2 separate regions of the Homo sapiens genome follow, and region 1 is linked to region 2. Evidence: promoter capture Hi-C in human tissues and cell types (Jung and others, 2019). All regions are on one chromosome and are shown on one strand. The core of a region is centred on a gene start or on the middle of the fragment in contact, and the rest is flanking DNA. Distances in the headings are between cores, read along the strand shown. Region 1 has its middle 34 kb from the start of RAB7A. Region 2 holds the start of CNBP (CCHC-type zinc finger nucleic acid binding protein).

Region 1 (6,266 bases), core at 3,034-5,533, 490 kb after region 2:
GGAGTTCAGGACCAGCCTGGCCAACATGGTGAAACCCCATCTCTACTAAAAATACAAAATTAGCCAGGGGTGGTGGCACATGCCCATAATCCCAGCTACTCGGGAGGGTGAGGCAGGAGAATTGCTTGAAGCCAGAAGGTAGAGGTTGCAGTGAGCCGATCTGTGACACTGCCCTCCAGCATGGGCCACAAGAGTGAAACTCTGTCTCAAAAAAAAAAAAAAAAAAAATTACACAGGCTTGGTGGTGGGCGCCCGTAATCCCAGCTACTTGGGAGGCTGAGGCAGGGAGAATTGCTTGAACCCAGGAAGCAGAGGTTGCAGTGAGCCGAGATCTCACCAATGCACTCCAGCCTGGGCGACAGAGAGAGACGGTCTCAAAAAATAAAAAAGGGCCAGCTGGGTGCAGTGGCTCATGCCTGTAATCCCAGCACTTTGGGAGGCTGAGGTGGGCGGATCATGAAGTCAGGAGATCGAGACCATCCTGGCTAACACGGTGAAACCCCCTCTCTACTAAAAAATAGAAAAAATTAGCCTGGCTCGGTGGCGTGTGCCCATAGTCTCACCTACTCGGGAGGCTGAGGCAGGAGAATGGCGTGAACCTAGGAGGCGGAGCTTGCAGTGAGCTGAGATTGTGCCACTGCACTCCAGCCTGAGCAACAGAGCAAGACTCCGTCTCAAAAAAAAATAAATAAATAAAATAAAATAAAATAAAAAAGGGCCGGGCACAGTGGCTCATGCCTGTAGTCCCAGTACTTTGGGAGGCCGAGGCAGGCAGATCACGAGGTCAGGAGTTGGAGACCAGCCTGGCCAACATGGTGTAACCCCATCTCTACTAAAAATACAAAAATTAGCGAGGCGTGGTGGCAGGCACCTGTAATCCCAGCAACTTGGGATGCTGAGGCAGGAGAATAGCTTGAACCTGGGAGGCAGAGGTTGCAGTGAGCCGAGACCTCGCTATTGCACTCCACACTGGGCGACAGAGCGAGACTCCATCTCCAAAAACAAAAAAATAAATAATATATATATACACACACATATATATACATACATATATACACACGTATATATGTATATACACATTGGTCTCTGCCCCAGTTGCTGGCACAGAGCCCCTAATACTCATGTAATTTTCTAAGCAGTAGGGGTGCTAAGACAATCTTTTGTTCTAACATTTGGTCTTTGACCCTGGTTCCTGACACAGAGTTCCTAAATCTGTTGGAATTTCCTGGGTGACAGGAGCGGAGCTCTTTTGTTCTAATGAGGGAACTCTTGGCAGATCCCTGATATCCTCAGGATTGGAGCTGGTTGACAAGGGAACCAACCTGTGATTAGATGGTTGGAACTTTCAGCAGCCCCCTGACTTTGGGGAGGAGAGAGAAGCTGAAGGCTGAGTTGATCACCAAAGGCCAATGATTTAGTCAGTTGTGTAGGTCATGAAGCCTCCCTAAAAACCCAAAAGGACAGGGTTCAGAAGAGCTTCCCAACAGCTGAGCACAGGCAGATTCCTGGAGAGGGGCATGCCTAGAGAAGGCATAGAAACTCTGTGCATCTTCCCCACACCTCTTCCTGGGCATCTCGTCCATCTGGCTGTTCATCTGTTTTTTTGTTTGTTTGTTTGCTTGCTTGTGACAGAGTCTCACTCTGTTGCCCAGGCTGCAGTGCAGTGGCACAATTTTGCCTCACCACAACCCCTACCTCCCAGGTTCAAGCGATTCTCATGCCTCAGCCTCCTGAGTAGCTGGGACTACAGGCACATGCCACCATGCCCAGCTAATTTTTATGTTTTTAGTAGAGACGGGGTTTTGCCATGTTGGCCAGGCTGATCTCCAACTCCTGACCTCAGGTGATCTGCCTGCCTCGCTCAGCCTCCCAAAGTGCTGGGATTACAGTGTTCATCTGTATTCTTTGTAATATCCTTTATAAGAAACCAGTATACATCAGTAAGTGGTTCCCTGAGTCTTGTGAGCCACACTAGCCAATTAAATAAATCCTGGGAGCCCCAGTTTATAGCCAATTGGTCAGAAGCACAGACCACGACCCGTGCTTGCAGCATCTGAAGTGGGGGGCAGCCTTGTGGGACTAGAGCCCTCAACCTGTGGGATCTGACACTATCTCCAGGTAGATGGTGTCAGAACTGAACTGGAGGACACCCAGCTGATGTCTACTGGGGAATCCGCAGAATCGATGTTTGGTGTGTGGGGAAATAACCCCCGCATATCTGCTGTTGGCAGTGTTGAGTGACTGGGTAAGAGTAGGAAAAATCACTTAGGTTTGTTCCTCTATCTCACACAGATATTAAGTATGTTCAGATTGCTGTGCAACCCTTGCTTATTTTGAAAATGGGTTTTCTGTTGTTGAGTTTTAGGAGTTCTGCATGCATTCTGGATATTAATCTCTTATCAGATATATGATTCACAAATATTTTCTCCTATTCTGTGTGTTGTGTCAAAAACACAATTTCAACACATTGAGTTTTAAAGATTTGGCTAGATGTGGTATCTCATGCTTGTAATCTCCTTACTTTGGGAGGCCGGGGTGGGGGGATCACCAGAGCCTAGGAGTTTAAGGTTACAGTGAGCTAGGATTGCACTACTGCACTGTAGCCTGGGTGACAGAGCAAGACACTGTCTGTAAAAAAAATAAAGATCTAATTAGCTTTTATTGGTGATTCATGAACTGAGCAACATCCAGCCTACAAAATAGACAGGAGCTCTACCAGGCATGGCAGAGCAGTAGGTTTTTCTAAGGCAGGCAGCTTGACCAGGAACAAGGAAACAGCATAGTGGAAAAAGTGGATTGGTTGGCTGGGCGCGGTGGCTCATGCCTGTAATCCCAGCACTTTGGGAGGCCAAGGAGGGCAGATCACGAGGTCAGGAGATCGAGACCATCCTGGCTAACATGGTGAAACCCCGTCTCTACTAAAAATACAAAAAAAATGAGCCGGGCTTGGTGGCGGGCGCCTGTAGTCCCAGCTACTTGGGAGGCTGAGGCAGGAGAATGGCGTGAACCCGGAAGGCGGAGGTTGCAGTGAGCCGAGATTGCGCCACTGCACTCCAGCCTGGGCTACAGAGCGAGACTCCATCTCAAAAAAAAAAAAAAAGTGGATTGGTTAACATTAGGTTCCTTCGGGTTACTTTCCTTGCATGGCTTAAAGCAGAGGGGACTTCCTTATCAAGCAGCTTAGGTTGAATGGGCCCCTTTTGATTGGTTGCTGTGAATCTATTTTTTTGTAAAACTGACCTATTGGGGATTTGACTGTTGCCTCTCTCCTGATTTCTCAGAAGGTCAGATTTTTTTTTTTTTTTTTAGACAAGAGTTTTGCTCTGTTGCGCAGGCTGGAGTCCAGTGGCACGATCTCAGCTCACGGCAACGTTTGCCTCCTGGGTTCATGCAATTCTCCTGCCTCAGCCTCCCAAGTAGCTGGGATTACAGACATGCACTACCACACCCAGCTAATTTTTGTATTTTTAGTAGAGATGGGGTTTCACCATGTTGGTCAGGCTGGTCTCGAACTCCTGACCTCAAGTGATCCACCCGCCTCGGCCTCCCAAAGTGCTGGGATTACAGGCGTGAGCCACCACGCCCAGCCCTAAGGTCAGATCTTATAAGCAAACAGCTTAGGTTTCAGTTTGGTGACATGGAACCTTAGCATGAGTGACTCCATTTTGGGTCAGCCTGTAGGGGCCTAGTGTAGGAGGAGCTCAGTACAAATCAATGGCCTCCATTTGGCCAGGCACTGTGGCTCACACCTGTAATTCTAGCACTTTCAGGGGCCGAGGTGGGAGGATCCCTTGAGCTCAGGAGTTCAACAATAGCCTGGGCAGTATGATGAAACCTCTTCTCTACAAAAAAATAGTAGTCCCAATTACCGGGGAGGATGAAGTGGTAAGATCGCTTGAGCCCAGGAGGTCAAGACTGCAGTAAGTCATGATGGCATCGCTACACGCCAGCCTGGGCAACAGAGTGAGACCGTGTCTCATAAAACAAACAAACAAAAAAACCAAATCAATGGCCTCCCATAAATATACCAGAACCCTTTGTTTTTCTTTGATGCTGTTCAGGCTCAGAAAATGATACCCCAAAGTATGCTGCTTTAGCATGCTGAGTGCTTTGAACTAAAGGAGACTGAAAGGTTCCAGAAGCAAAGTCTCTCTCTGACCTTCTCCTGCCCTCCTATCTCCCATCCCTCTTTCTCCACTGAAGTGAGAATCAGAACCCTTCTTCCCAAGGCAGGTTGTAGTAACTAGAATCCCACTCCCCCAGAGCTAGCCACAAAACCTAGAAAAGTTACTCTGTCTAGGCTGGGCACGGTGGCTCATTCCTGTAATCCCAGCACTTTGGGAGGCCGAGATGGGCGGATCACCTGAAGTCAGGAGTTCGACACCACCCTGGCCAACATGGTGAAACCCCGTCTCTACTAAAAATACAAAAAAAAAAAAAAAAAAAAAAAGTTGGGCGTGGTGGCACACGCCTGTAGTCCCAGCTACTCAGGAGGCTGAGGCAGGGGAGGTTGAGGCAGGAGAATTGCTTGAACCCAGGAGGCAGAGGTTGCAGTGAGCTGAGATTATGCCACTGCACTCCAGCCTAGATGACAGAACAAGACTGTCTCAAAAAAAAAAAAAAAAGAAAGAAAAAAAAAGCGAGGTTACTCTCCTCTTCTCCCTTGAAGACCCTCATTCCAGAAGAGTCCTGCCGATACCTAGGGCAAAGAAATGCTACACTGAGAGACCAAGAAGAATTTGAACCTTACTGGGTTTCTTCCCCTCAGTGTATTACTATTAGATCACACCCTTTTTGTCCAATCATATTTCTACATGGCTGTCCATTCTTCATTCAACCTAAGCATACAAATAGTTTTCCCTTGGTCTTTAGGTCTTCATTTCCAGAAGCTCCTGTATTGTGTAAAATGTTGTAAATAAGTTTGTTATTATTTTCTCTTGTAATTCTGTCTTTTGTCATAGGCATGTTGGCCATGACCTTTATGATTGGTGAGGAAATGTATCAAAGCTTTCCAACCCTTCAATGCACAAAAGTTAATTTCAATGAGGTCTAATTTGTCTTTTTTTTTGAGACAGAGTCTCACTCTGTAGCCCAAGCTGGAGTGCAGTGATGCAATCTTGGCTCACTGCAACCTCCTCCTCCAGAGCTCAAGCGATTCTCGCCTTGGCCTCCTAAGTAGCTGGGACTACAGGAGCACGCCACCATTCCCAGCTAATTTTTCTGTATTTTTAGTAGAGATGGGGTTTCACCATGTTGCCATGGGTGGTCTCGAACTCCTGAGCCCAGGTGATTCACCCGCCTCAGCCTCCCAAAGTGCGTGAGCCACCACACCCGGCCCCAGTTTGTCTATTTTTCTTTTGTTGCCTGTGCCTGTGGTGTCATAGCCACAAAATCATCACCAAATCCAAAATCATGAAGCTTTCCCTCCATCCTTGCTTCTAAGATTTTTATAGTTTTAGCTCTTATATTTTTTTTTTTTCAGGCGGAGTCTTGCTCTGCTGCCCAGGCTGGAGTGCAGTGGCGCGATTTTGGCTCACTGCAACCTCGGCCTCCTGGGTTCAAGCGATTCTCCTGCCTCAGCCTCCCGAGTAGCTGGGATTATAGGCGCACATCACAACACCTGGCTATTTTTTTTCAGTAGAGACAGAGTTTCACCATGTTGGCCAGGCTGGTCTTGAACTCCTGACCTCAGGTGATCCACCGGCCTCGGCCTCCCATAGTGCTGGGATTACAGGCGTGAACCACCACGCCTAGCCAGCTCTTACTTTTATGTCTTTGAGAGTGTATTGTGTAGTGAAAACACCCTGTAAACCACATCTTTCCTCTACTCTCACATGACAACAATCATCAACATCAAGACTTCTGTGGCCAAATGTGTAGGGGGTTTTCCCCACACATCAAGCAGTGGACACCAGGTAGGTGTCCTCTAATTCAGTTCCGACACTATCTGATAGTGTCAGATCTCACAGGTTGATTGCTCATTCTCCAAGACCACCCTCTCCCCCAACACCAGTGGCAAGTCCAGACCAGAACTCCAGAATCTTTTTTTTTTTTTGAGATGGAGTCTTGCTCTGTCACCCAGGCTGGAGTGTGCAGTGGTGTGATCTCAGCTCACTGCAATCTCCGCCTCCCAGGTTCACGCTGTTCTCCTGCCTCAGCCTCCCGAGTAGCTGGAATTACAGGCGCCTGCCACCACGCCTGGCTAATTTTTGTATTTTTAGTAGAGACGGGGTTTCACCATGTTGGCCAGACTGGTCTCGATCTCC
Region 2 (6,772 bases), core at 1,532-4,031:
TGTAACCCTTGCAATGCTGAGCATGAGACTGAACACTGGAGGAGAGGAGGGGAATAAAACATCTCCAGGGAAGAGGAATGTAATGGGAGCCTCTTCAAGTCCCACTGGCAGCTTATCTTTTGAGTGAGCTTTTTCCTATTTTCAAACATTTCTAGTAAAATAGGCATACCAAAGGGTATATCCAGGCAATACAAGCCATTGTAGTTAAATTCCACCATACACCTTTTCTGGCGCCTCACGATCAGCCTGGCTCTATTAATAATAGTCGTTACAGGAAGCTGCATGCCAGGTAGAAAGAGCCATTAGCTGTTACCACTCCACTGCCAAGAAGTAAAGACATTGTTTCCATTTCTTCTACTTAAGTCTTTTAAAACCTATAGAACATTATGTCCAGTATCTCTATCTCACACTCACTTTCATTTTCTATAGCTGTTGAAATTTTTGTTTTAATATTAGGAATATTCCATTCCTGGGTCTATAATGAATAGCAAACATTTTATACAGTACTATGGTTGGAATGGTAAACAAAAATAAGTCAGAAAATATTAATTTTTGGCCATATGGTAATTTTAACTTGTCCTCTTGGTGTGGTGTGGACGCACCCAGGTTGGACTTCATACATAGCCTCTTGCATTATATTGACTCATTGTCAGAGCTCACGAAGTCACTACCTAAGTGTCTGATTGCTACACTATACATTACTTCAAGATACTATGAAGGTTAATCAGATTACAAAGGGGAAATCATAAAGCTGAGTAAGCTTCTTGGTAATAAAACTATATAAATACAAAATACTGTTTTTTATTGGCAGATAATATATCGTGTTTTAGCACAACACATAAGCTGCTAGGCATTTATTCAATCTGATTGGGAATGGGTTAAATTTGGTTAAAAAATTTTACCTTAGGTTGCTTTAATTAAAAAAATGTTTAAGGCTGAGTGCAGTGGCTCACACCTGTAATCCTAGCACTTTGGGGGCACTGGGTGCAGTGGCTCACACCTGTAATCCTAGCACTTTGGCCTAGCACCGCTTGAGGCCAGGAGTTCAAGACCAGCCTGGCCAACATGATGAAACCCCATCTCTACTAAAAATACAAAAATTAGCCAGGCGTGGTGGTGGGCGCCTGCAGTCCCAGCTACTCAGGAGGCTGAGGCAGAATTGGTCAAACATGGGAAGCGGAGGTTGCAGTGAGCTGAGACAGCACTCCAGCCTGGGCAACAGAGGGAGACCCTGTCTCAAAAAATAGTAATAAATAAATTTAAAAAGTTCGGCCAGGCGCGGTGGCTCATGCCTGTAATCCCAGTGCTTTGGGAGGACGATCACCACTTTGGGTGGGCGGATCACCTGAGGTCGGGAGTTTGAGACCAGCCTGACCAACATGGAGAAACCCCGCCTATACTAAAAATACAAAATTAGCCGGGCGTGGTGGCGCATGCCTATAATCCCAGCTACTGGGGAGGCTGAGGCAGGAGAATCACTTGAATCCAGGAGGCGGAGGTTGCAGTGAGCTGAGATCGTGCCATTGCACTCCAGCCTGGGCAACGGAGTGAGACTCCGTTCTCAAAAAAAAAAAAAAGTTTAAAATATCATTGGTCTTTAAAGTTATACATTCATTCTTTGATAATTGCTATGTTGAACGCAACCTCCTAACTGCTTTACAATGATTAAGCACTAATGATTTGAACCCAGGTTTAAAGTCTGACTCTCAACACATGTGCTCTGCCTTCTCACGAACATGATTTCAAAAATCATAGCCCCGGGATTTGGGATTGGTGGCTTATGCCTGTAAACCCAGCGACAGAGCAAGACCCTACTCTTAAAAAAAAAAAAAATTAAAGAAAAAAAGAAAAATAAATCATAGTGTTGAACTGGCAGGTTTCACTGAGACGAAACTTGGGACTCTTCCTTTTTTTTTGTTTCGAATAAAGCCATTCTAGAATGAGACAAAATTCTAAAATATTTTATAGTTAACAGTTTAAATTGGGTTTAATCTTGACAAGACTATCTAGGGCTATATACACAAATCTCTTTTGGAGAAAATACCACAACTAAACTGAAGTCTATTCCTGAATATGACAGACCAGGTCAAATGGTTATCCTTGCCCTCCCGGGGGATGTCACTCATAAACGTGCCAAAAGTCACAGTCTAGGCCCCATTACCTTACATGCTCATGACCTTCCCAGGGAGGCCCCTCGCCCTTACCAGGCACTTTCATCTTGGGAAGACACATCAGTCCTGGCGGAGAAAGCAGCAAGGCCTTTCCCCGGCTCACAAAAATTAATACAAATCTCAGAGGCTGCATCCCACAGCCGTGACCACCGTGACTTGGCATCCCCTTTTCTGCAAACTTAAATGTTATCTAGAAATCGGGCCTGGCTCTGAAAGCCAAGGGCCTGGCAGGAGCCCGAGAAAGGGGAGAAACTTTCTGCGGCCCCAAGCTAATGGCAGTCACTGCACCGAGACCCGTCCCCTGGCATCCCTTTGCTCCAGCTGGCCAAGACAGACCACCAAGGTCAGCCAGATTTCCACCCAGTCTGGCCGGGCCCGGACCCAGCTGGGAATGAACCGAGAAGCACCGGGACCCGGATCCCGGCGTGAAAGGCCGCGCGCGGGGCACGGCGGGAAAAGACGCTGCGCGCAGAAACACCCGCCCCGCGCCGCGCTCTAGTGGGCGGCCCTGCCGCGGGCGGCTCTGATTGGACTGCCGAACCCCGCGCGCTGATTGGCCGCGTGGGCGAGGCGGAGGAGAGCCGTGCGCAGCGGCGTATGTGGGGCCGTGTGCAGACCCGCGTGTGGCGCAGGCAAGGACCCTCAAAATAAACAGCCTCTACCTTGCGAGCCGTCTTCCCCAGGCCTGCGTCCGAGTCTCCGCCGCTGCGGGCCCGCTCCGACGCGGAAGGTGAGGGCTGGGGGAGGGGCCCGGCGCTGACGGAGCCGCAGTGCGGGTCGGGTCTGTGGCGGACAGAGAGGGTAGGGAGCGGCGAGGTGGCGATGGCGGCCGCACTTTGGCCTGCGCCTCTGCTGCGTCAGGCGGGAAGCTCGGCTGCTGCCGCCGCCTCGGACCCGGGTTTCTGGCGCACCGCTGTCGGACGACACTTCTGTCCTTTCTTCGTCCTGGAAAGCTGGGTCGCCGAGCATGCGGGTCTTTCGGCGCCACGGCCGCACCCCAGGCCGCAGGCTTAGGGCAGAGGAGGCCCGCCCGTGCGCCCTTGGGGCCGAGGCCCTGACGCTTCGAGGGTCGCGGAATGAGGGACCGAGGGTGGATTTGGCGGGAACTCACTGGAAGGAGTCCGTGTGGTGGGGAAAGGCTCCCGGCTGCGGATGAAGGGGGGATGGGGTGGGTATAGTCGTGCAGGCCATGTGCTGGGGTCGTGCGCCTGGCGGGCCATGTGCCAAGGGTTTTGGGGGCCTTAGAAAAGGGTTCTTAGGCCGGGCGCGGTGGCTCACGCCTGTAATCCCAGCACTTTGAGAGTCCCAGGCGGGCGGATCACGAGGTCAGGAGTTCGAGACCAGCCTGACCAATATGGTGAAAGTTGGTCTGTACTAAAAATAAAAAATTAGCCGGGCATGGTGGCGGGCGCATGTAGTCCCAGCAGCTCGGGAGGCTGGACAGGAGAATCGCGTGAACCCCGGAGGCCGAGGTTGTGGTGAGCCGAGATCGCGCCACTACACTCCAGCATGGGCAACAGAGAGAGACTCCGTCTTAAAAAAACAAACAAACAAACAAACAAACAACAACAAAGGGTTCCTGAAGAAGCCTTTGTGTTTGGAGTGGCGAGACTGCTGGAAGACTTGGGAGCTTTTAGAGTTTATACTCCCTATCCTTGATAGTTTTCCGATTCTTGAATTTTTATCGTCATTTAAATACTAAGTTGCTTGTGTTACATTACCATTCCAAAAGGGGCTGATGGGGCTCACATTCCAAGAGTTAACACTATTTAAGTTGCTGGGATCCTTTAAAAGCGCCATTACCAGAAAAAACACGAATTTGTCAAACCTCCAAAACCACAGCAGCGGGCGGTAGTCTGCATCATTTCTTGGATTAATGAAACAGATGTAATTACAAACGAGACACGAAATTCAACTAGCTCCCCTCCATCTAGATTTTTCCATATCGTGAGAACCTGTTTTAGAATGGCATAATGGTCCACATTTGGGTTTAGGTGTTGATTTTATTATGGGTAAGGCTTGTGCTTGTTCCCACATGTTAACCATATGGCCTCAGCCACAGGGCACTTCCAAAGGAAGTGACTGTTTCTGGTCTTGGGGGTCTTGTAAAAAGAGAACATTGCTCAGTAATCGTCTGTGATTTTAGCTAGTGTGTTTCAGGCATTATTCAGAAGGACTCAGGTGAGATAAGCCAAAACTGAATTTGTTTTTTGTCTTTCTCAAAGTGAAGGAGGTCTAATGAATATCCCCATCTTGCTTTTAAATTACATTTTTAAAAGTAGATTTTTCCCCCTTTCCTATTGTTTGACCCAATTTTGGAGTGAAACGTAACCAGTTACTATTTCCATTCGAATTTAAATTAGCAATTTTATGTTATTTGTTTGTTCAAGCAGTATAACTGGAGTGTAGAGCTTTGAGGGTTTCAAAAAGATAAGAGATATAGTACTTATCTCCTGGGCTTCCCCCTCCCCCCTCCTAAATAGTTTTAAATGCTTCTAATGAGTTACTCTGGTTAAGGATAATCAAACACCTGTAAACTGCCAGGATCCTAGGTACATGCTGTTTTTAGTTTGTTGAGCCTGATTCTTGTCTACAAGAGTTCTTTGTGTATTGGAATATAAAAGGAATAATTTATTACATTCCCAAGGGCAGAATTAAAGACTTAAGTTTTTCCGATTTCATCTCTTGATAAGTTTTTCTTTAAAAAAATAACAGTTTGTGTTTTTCTGAGGAACCAAAGGTCCTCTTTTTTTTCATATTGGTAACAGGAGAGGTAATGTATTTCAGATGGTGCAGTCTGTAAAATATTTTGAACCAAATCAGTGGAAGACCAGGGGTTTTTCTTTTTTTTTTTCTGAGACGGAGTCTCACTCTGTCGCCCAAGCTGGAGTGCAGTGGCGCGATCTCGGCTCACTGCGACCTCCGCCTCCCGGATTAAGCGATTCTCCTGCCTCAGCCTCCGAAGTAGCTGGGATTACAGGCGCCCGCCGCCACACCCAGCTAGTTTTTGTATTTTAGTACAGACGGGGTTTCACCATGTTGGCCAGGCTGGTCTCGAACTCCTGACCTTGTGATCCGACTCCCTCGGCCTCTCAAAGTGCTAGGATTACAGGCAGGAGCCACCGCGCCTGGCCAGGTTTTTCTTAAACTGGCATTTGAACATCTGGAACAGGCAGGGAGATGTCTTTTTTAAAGTATAAATGTGTTTTGTTACATGATTTATGACAATTCTACTTGTCTTTTTTTTTTTTTTTTTTTTTTTTTTTGAGACAGAGTCTTTCTCTGTCGGCCAGGCTGGAATGCAGTGGCACAGTCTCGGCTCACAGCAGCCTCCATCTCCCGGGCTCAAGCAATTCTCCTGCCTCAGCCTCCCAAGTAGCTGGGATTACAGGCGTGTGCCACCACGCCCGGCTAATTTTTGTATTTTTTGTAGAGACGGGGTTTCACCATGTTGGCCAGGCTGGTCTTGATCTCCTGACCTCAGGTAATTCACCCGCCTCGGCCTCCCAAAGTGCTGGGATTACAGGCCTGAGCCACCGTGCCTTGCCAACAATTCTACTTGTCTTTTAAAGTTCAATAAAAATATGTGGCACGTATATGGGATAGTACCAAACTGGTGCCTAAAAGCAGTGAAACCACCATTGGACTAATTGGAATGATTTGTCTATTGGCTGAAGATTTGACCACAGAGAGATTCTGCTTTTTTTTCCTTGCAGGGATGAAAAATTAAAAAAAAAAAAAAAGATTGGTTCCTTTTTCTCTTCCTAGCCTCCTGACAGTAAGTAGAGAGCCAGAAGAATGATGCCAAGGCATCCTGGCCTGCTATGTGGAGAACGCTCTTTCCTTACTGTCTCACTTAATAGAACTCCTGTTCTGGCAGTGTCAGATGCTGCAGCAGCAAGGGAATGCCATTGAGTGATTGCAGTAAGCTATGCAGCATTTTCATGTTTAAAACTACTGAGATAATAAAGTGAGAACTTGAGGCCACCAAATTTTAAGTTGTAATTAGAAGGATTTTGTTAATTAGGAATATGAGAGTGCTACAGTGATCACCTGGAATGGCTCCATAAATACAAATGAGGTGTTAACTAGTGAAGCAAGTTGCCAGTGTTTGTGTGTTTGGTGAGACTCCTAAGTTCTGCCATGAAGTTAAAGAAAATATTTTTTAAGATTCAAGAAAGCTGTGTGAATGAATTCAAAATTATTATGACTGTAGATCTTTTAAAAAGCTATCAGTATTAGTTTTACTTTGATTTTTATCTAAAGAGAAATACAGAATGAATACTTACAGCATTACAATTCAAATGTGCGTGGCTTTTTTTTTTCTTAGTTACTAGATATATAGTAGTAATACCTTTATGTAATATTTTGAAGTAGAGATTGAATTGGTATAATTCCCTACCTTAAAAATATTACACAATAGCATTTTTGTCATATATTACGATAGCATTTTTGTGTACTTTACCACTTAACTTTTTTTTTCCTTTTCTTTTTTTTTTGGAGACAAAGTCTTGCTCTGTCGCCCAGGCGGGAGTGCAATGGCAGGATCTCAGCTCACTGCAACCTCTGCCTCCTGGGTTTAAGCCATTCTCCTGCCTCAG

The links. Contacts are between HindIII fragments. The study calls those that stand out against the background at their distance.
Region 1: a fragment that was not itself captured here is called in contact with the fragment with the promoter of CNBP in region 2 in 1 of the 25 tissues and cell types used here (spleen).

The regions. Positions count from the first base shown.
Region 1 is chr3:128,688,849-128,695,114 of GRCh38, reverse strand. No RefSeq gene overlaps it. Among named protein-coding and RNA genes, the nearest start is that of RAB7A, 34 kb to the left of the region's middle. The HindIII fragment of the contact is 7,361 bases long and covers 603-6,266 here.
Region 2 is chr3:129,179,905-129,186,676 of GRCh38, reverse strand. It overlaps CNBP (CCHC-type zinc finger nucleic acid binding protein), which reads left to right and starts at 2,781. Exons shown (of 5, transcript NM_003418.5): 1 at 2,781-2,901. It overlaps LOC105374101 (a long non-coding RNA gene), which reads right to left and starts at 2,603. Exons shown (of 2, transcript XR_924469.3): 1 at 2,205-2,603. RefSeq lists an enhancer at 2,358-2,447. The HindIII fragment of the contact is 21,375 bases long and covers 1-6,772 here.